2 separate regions of the Homo sapiens genome follow, and region 1 is linked to region 2. The links are contacts of gene promoters, found by promoter capture Hi-C in human tissues and cell types (Jung and others, 2019). All regions are on one chromosome and are shown on one strand. Each heading gives the region's core, a stretch centred on a gene start or on the middle of the fragment in contact. The rest is flanking DNA. Distances are from core to core; before and after follow the strand shown. Region 1 overlaps PAQR5 (progestin and adipoQ receptor family member 5). Region 2 holds the start of GLCE (glucuronic acid epimerase).

Region 1 (2,968 bases), core at 170-2,669, 180 kb after region 2:
CTGGGATTACAGGCATGAGCCACCGTGCCCGGCCTCACATTAACACCTTTTTTTCAAGCTTTTTTGTTTATGGCTTTTAGTAAGCAATACCTTTTGTCATAATCTAGTATACACATACAGTCATACATAACATAGCAAGCAATATCTATAAACATATGTAACAAACATCATAAAACAGTACTTACCTTTACTCTGCAATACACTGATATTTTCTGTCTATTCTTTTCCATACGATTCTATCTTTAAATGTTAATCATGACTCACTAAATAGATTTCACGATCCATTGAGAGGTTGTGACCTGCAGTTTGGAAAGCACTGTGTGAGCAGACATAATCATGGCTTTAATGAATGGCAAACTACTTGGGAGTTGTTTATAATCTTGCTGAGGTGGGCATTTGACCCATGCTGCAAGGAGGCTGAAGTTCAGGCACGTGTCATTCAGCTGATGAGTGACCTCAGCTTTCCCCCAGCTCCCTGCCCTGTGAGTTGGCCGTTTTCTTCCCATGGTGGATTCAGGCATTGGCATGGCGGGGTGAGCTTCTGGTCCTTCCAACTCTAGGACCCATGCACATGTTCCCACTGTTCGTTAGAGACCTTCCTTATTTTTGACTTTGCCAGGCCCTCACTGAGTGACCTCAAGCAAGTCATTTCCTATCTGAGGTTCTCAGATATAAAATAGGAAGAAGGGTGGATTGAACTAGTCTGCGCTTCTCACAATAGTGGGGGAGGCAGTTTGCAGCAACAGGATGTGTATAATATGTATTTTTTTTCTGGAAGATTTGGAGAAAATAAATTTTTGTATTAAAACAACTATAAATTATGGAGCAGACTACAAAAAGCACGTGCTTTTTAATGATACTTTTTTATTGTGGTAAAATATACGTAACATAAAATTTATCATGCTAAGCACTTAAAAATGTGTAATTCGTTGGTATTGAGTACATTCACATTGCTGTGCACCTATGACCACCATCCATCTCCACGACTTCTTCATCTTCCCAAATAGAAACTACGTATCCCTTAAACACTAATTCCCCATCCCCTCTACCCGCCCCCGGCCCCCCTGCCAGACTGTCTTTACGTAAATGTCTCTAAAATTTGCCTATTCCAGGCATGTCATCTCAATGGAATCATACAATATTTGTCCCTTTGTGTCTGGCTTATTTGACTTAATGTTTTCAAGCCTCACCCATGTTAAAACATGTATTAGAATTCTATTCCTTTTTTTTTTTTTTTTTTTAAAAAATAGGGTCTTGCTCTGTTGCCCAGGCTGGAGTGCAGTGGTGTGATCACAGCTCACTGTGGCCTTGTTCTCCTGAGCTCAAGTAGTCCCCCCACCTCAGCCTCCAGAGTAGCTGAGATTACAGGCATGAACCATCACATTGGGCCTTTTATTCTTTCTTAAGGCTGAGTAATATCCTGTAGTATAGATATACCACATTTTGTTTATCCATTCATCTGCTGAAGAGCATTTGGGCTTTCACCTTTTGGTCATTGTGAGTAATGCTGCTATGAAAATTGGTTTAGAAATACCTGCTTCAGGCCGTCGCACCTGTAATCCCAGTACTTCGGGAGGCCAAGGTGGGTGGATCACTTGAGCTCAGGAGTTTGAGACCAGCCTGGACAATATAGGGAGGACTCATCTCTACAAAAAATACAAAAATTAGATGGTGTGGTGGCATGTGTCTGTGGTCCCAGATACTTAGGAGGCTGAGGTGGGAGGATCACTTAATCCCAGGAGGTCAAGTCTGCAGTGAGGCACTCCAGCCTGGACAACAGAGTGAGACCCTGTCTCAAAAAAAAAAAAAAAACTGTTTCAGCCCCTTTCACTTCTTTTGGGTATATAGATAGAAGTGAAATTGCTGGATTATATGGTAATTCTGTTTAACTTTTTGAGAAACTGTCATACTGTTTTCCATAGCTATTGCACCACTTTACAGTCCCACCAGAAATGCATTAGTTTCTATTTCTCCACACCCTTGCCAATACTTACCTTCTGTGTTTTTTGTTTTGTTTTTTGATAGCAGCCATCCTAATGGCTATGAAGCGGTATCCCATTATGGTTTTGAACTGTGCTTCCCTAATGACTAGTGGTGCTGAGAATCTTTCCATGTGCCTATTGGTTGTTTGTTCTTTTATTATTATTATTATTATTATTATTATTATTATTATTATTATTTCTTTTATATTGGTTGTTTGTATATTTGGGGAAAAATATCTATTCAAGCCATTTGCCCATTTTTGAATTGGCTTGTTTGGAATTTTTTTGTCAAGTTCTGGGAATTCTTTATATATTCTGGATATTAGTCTCTTATAGACATCTGATTTGCAAATCTCCCATTCTGTGGGCTGTCTTTCACTCTCTTGATAGTGTCCTTTGATGCATACAGGTTTTTAATTTTGATCACATGTTTTAAGGTAAAACGTGGTCTGAAAGCAGCTGGGGCCCCTGCTCCTAGGCTCTGCCTCCCTCCATCGTCCCCCAGGGTGCTATTCAGTCCTTGGAGGTGGTGAGGACTGCTGGGGCCTTCTGGCACAGTGATGGGATCAAGACTTGGCCTCATTCACCTCCTGGGCTCTGTGCTGTTTTCTGTTCACATGAAGGAGATTAGACAGGAGCCCCAGGGGAGGGAGAGGATCAGAAGTGTGGCTCAGCCACCCAGAGCCTGCCTAAACTCAGGACCTCCCCTTCACCTCTCACTCTCTGTTCTTCTCCAGCCACGCTCAGACCCTGCACCTTGCAGCACTGGCTAAAGAAGCCAGCTCCTCCTACCACATGCAGGAGGCATTCAGACCACTCTGAGATAAGCAGAAAGGTGATGCTGGCTTCCCTGTCCTGACATCTCCTTGCTTCCTTCTCACAGAACCTGAAACCCCTATGTTAACCTTGCTTCTTTGGGTCAAATGTATGACCACTTGTCTGAAATGCCTTTAACAAAATCCAGACATCCGGTGGTGATTTAGACT
Region 2 (2,857 bases), core at 100-2,599:
GAGAAAGGAGAAGGTAGTTTGGGTGGAAGAGATTGGGTGGCTTTGTTCTGTTCAAAGGATGGGCGAGACTATGTTTGTGGGAGAAAGATTTAGGTTAGAGGAAGAAATTAATAATGGGGAAAGAAAGAATAGCTGAATAAAATCTGGGAATGGCTGGGATCCAGGGCACAGGTGCAAGATTTAACCTTGAGGAGAAAGGGCACTTCTTGCTGTGGGTGAGGGAGTGAAGAGGGTAAGATGAATGAAGGTACAGGATAGGCATAATAATGAAGAGCCTGGATTTAAGGGTGAAGCCACTGGCTCACATTATAGAGGAAAGGCTAGGAAAGCCGAATTTTCTGGGGCCAGGTCCAGATTTAATATATTTAAGTATAACAGTCTTAATTCATTCCTTTCACCTTATTCAGTGCCCTGGGTGTGCCAAATACTACTGGGCACTGGGGTCTACAAAGGTACGACTTTTCATGTAATGTTGGAATTTGTTATGTTGGTAACTCGAGATTTGCATATATTTAACAGTCTTAATTCATTCCTTTCACATTATTCAGTGCCCTGGGTGTGCCAAATACTACTGGGCACTGGGGTCTATAAAGGTACGACTTTTCATTAATTTTGGAATTTGTTATGTTGGTAACTCGAGATTTGCTTTTCATTCTTCTGGAAGGCTGTATGTAGAAATAAATACAGTCATCAGACGAGTTCTTTGTCAGACCAGATGTCCTGGGTTGGGGTTTGGAAAACATGGGCATCTTAACAATGGTGCCCTGTTTGAGGTGGAGAGGGAGGAGAGGCCCAAATCGGGGAAAGGAATTAAATGGAGGTTTAGACGCGGGTAACCGGAGTGGGTGGGCCTTCAACCTGGAAGATGGGAATCCCCAGCGCACTTCGGGCAGCGCTGTAACCAAGGGTAACCGCACCTCGGTTTACACCGGTGTGAAGACCAGCCTCTTCCCCAAACCAGGTGTATCTACGGCGGCCTAGCAGGACCACACACAAGCCAAGCACGTCACGTCATTCGAGCTACCTTACCGCGAAAGTCCACTGCCTCCTACTACTTCTGGTCACTACTACCTTTGCTCACAGTTTATTAAGGAGGAGCGGAGAAGAAGAGGGGCGGAGAAGGGGCGGGGAGAATCACCTTTCCTTTTTTACAATTGGTCGTAGTAGACTCCGAGTCCTGCCGCCCGTCCTGCAGCCGACAGGCTGCCAGGACTGTCACTCGAGGAGCTGCCGCTACCGCCCCCCGCCGTGGCCCCGCCCCTTGCCGTGGCTGGGATCTCGCGGGAAGAGCTGCGGGCACGGCGGTGGCTCGGTCTCCCGGCTGCGCGCGGAGCGGGAGGGCTCTCCTCACACAAGCGCTTCCTTGCCGAGAGGCTGGAGCTGCGGCACCGCAGGCCTGAGCCACCCCTTCTCTGCTGTCTCCTTCTCTTCCTCAGGGCTCCCGTGTCTGCTCGCCCTCCGACGCTGCTCAGGTTAGAAAGCCCGGAGCGCGTCTCCGCTGAGGAGCGGTCGGGGAGCGGGGACACGGAGCAGCCGGAGCAGGCGGGCTCCTGACGGGGGCGGCTCTGGGGGCTGCGCGGCGCTGCCTGGTGGGCGCGAGGCTTGGCGGGGTTTGGGAGTCCGGGGGGCGAGGAGGCGGTGCAGTGGGATCCGGGCGCGGGCGCCCAAGGGCGGTGTAGCGGGTGCCGGAGCTCCCGAGGTGAGGGGGCAATGTATTAGGGATCCTGGGGGCTCTTCCGGCTTGGGGTAGGGGTGGGTGGCGGCACACGGGGTCCTAGGTCTTTGACGTCGAGGGAGATTTATCAGGGTCTTGAGCTTCTTGGAGGTGGTGTAGCGGGGTTCCGGGACAAGGGGTCTTTTTACCCGGGTCCCGAGCTCTTTGGGGCAGAGAATGCAGTTTAGCAAGGTTTACACCGGTGTAAACCTTGTCTCTGGAGGCAGATCATCGGGGTCTTGGGGGTTCTTTGAGCGGGCGTGGGCGTCCGTTTCGCATTGCTGGGATGAAGAAGCAGTGTGTCCGGGTTCTGGGGAGAGGGGTCTGTTCATCGGTGTCTCCGGGTGAGAGAGCGATGTATCCGTTCCGCTGGGGCCGGGGCCGCCTTGGGGGGTTGTTGGGGGCTGAGGGTGTGTAGCGGCGACCAGCGTCTGGCCGGGGTTTCTGCTTTGCCCGGAGCGGGGCGGTAACTTGGCATGGTCTCCAGTCTTTTGGGGGCGACGGGGCGAGTTAGCTGGCCCCCGGGCAGTCTCTCGGGGTGGGCGCGGCTCCGCAGGCGCTGGGTCCGCTGAGGGCGGGAGAGGGCTTTGGTGCTACCGCGCAGGCTGGGCAGCATCCTGAAACGTTTTTGTTCAGGTCTCCTTCTCTCTGGATGAGATTTACTCAATGCTTAGTTGGAGGATTGATCGGTGTTGTTGCCTAGTTGAAGAAGCAGTGCGTTTGTTCTGCAGTTTTCTTTTCTCTGCCCCGGGATCCCTGTGGGGGCGCGCTGGTCTCGCTGGAGCTCCGGGAGCTAGAGTGGCAGCACCTTAGGTGGGCGTTTGGTCTGCAGGTTCTTTAGGAGGCCGGTGTCCGCAGGTTGAGCGTGGATACAGCTCCTGAGCAACTGGAATCTGTTGAGGGTGGGGAAGACTGATTTTGGCTTGCTTTCCTAGGTGGTGGTCTGCTTTGCTCATCCTGCATGATTAGATCTGTTCTGAAGTCTTGCCTGAGTGAATGTTAGGCAGAGTCGGATAGTGCAGGGAAGCGTGTTCTGTCTGGCTTCTTTCTGTCCTTTGAAAAGCATTTGTAGAGAGGGATAACGTCAAATTCAGCCTCCAGAAAACAATGGAATTTGAAATCCCAAAGCTAGAACTCTGCAAA

The links. Contacts are between HindIII fragments. The study calls those that stand out against the background at their distance.
Region 1: a contact is called between a fragment that was not itself captured here and the fragment with the promoter of GLCE in region 2, in 1 of the 25 tissues and cell types used here (mesenchymal stem cells).

Annotation. Positions count from the first base shown.
Region 1 is chr15:69,340,132-69,343,099 of GRCh38, forward strand. The region is part of intron 2 of PAQR5 (progestin and adipoQ receptor family member 5); the gene reads left to right. Among named protein-coding and RNA genes, the nearest start is that of PAQR5, 43 kb to the left of the region's middle. RefSeq lists enhancers at 2,126-2,626, 2,627-2,968. The HindIII fragment of the contact is 5,737 bases long and covers 1-2,968 here.
Region 2 is chr15:69,159,286-69,162,142 of GRCh38, forward strand. GLCE (glucuronic acid epimerase) reads left to right here and starts at 1,350. Exons shown (of 5, transcript NM_015554.3): 1 at 1,350-1,472. It also overlaps the pseudogene LOC100421574. RefSeq lists an enhancer at 1,012-1,512 and silencers at 1,210-1,419, 1,620-1,729. The HindIII fragment of the contact is 12,441 bases long and covers 1-2,857 here.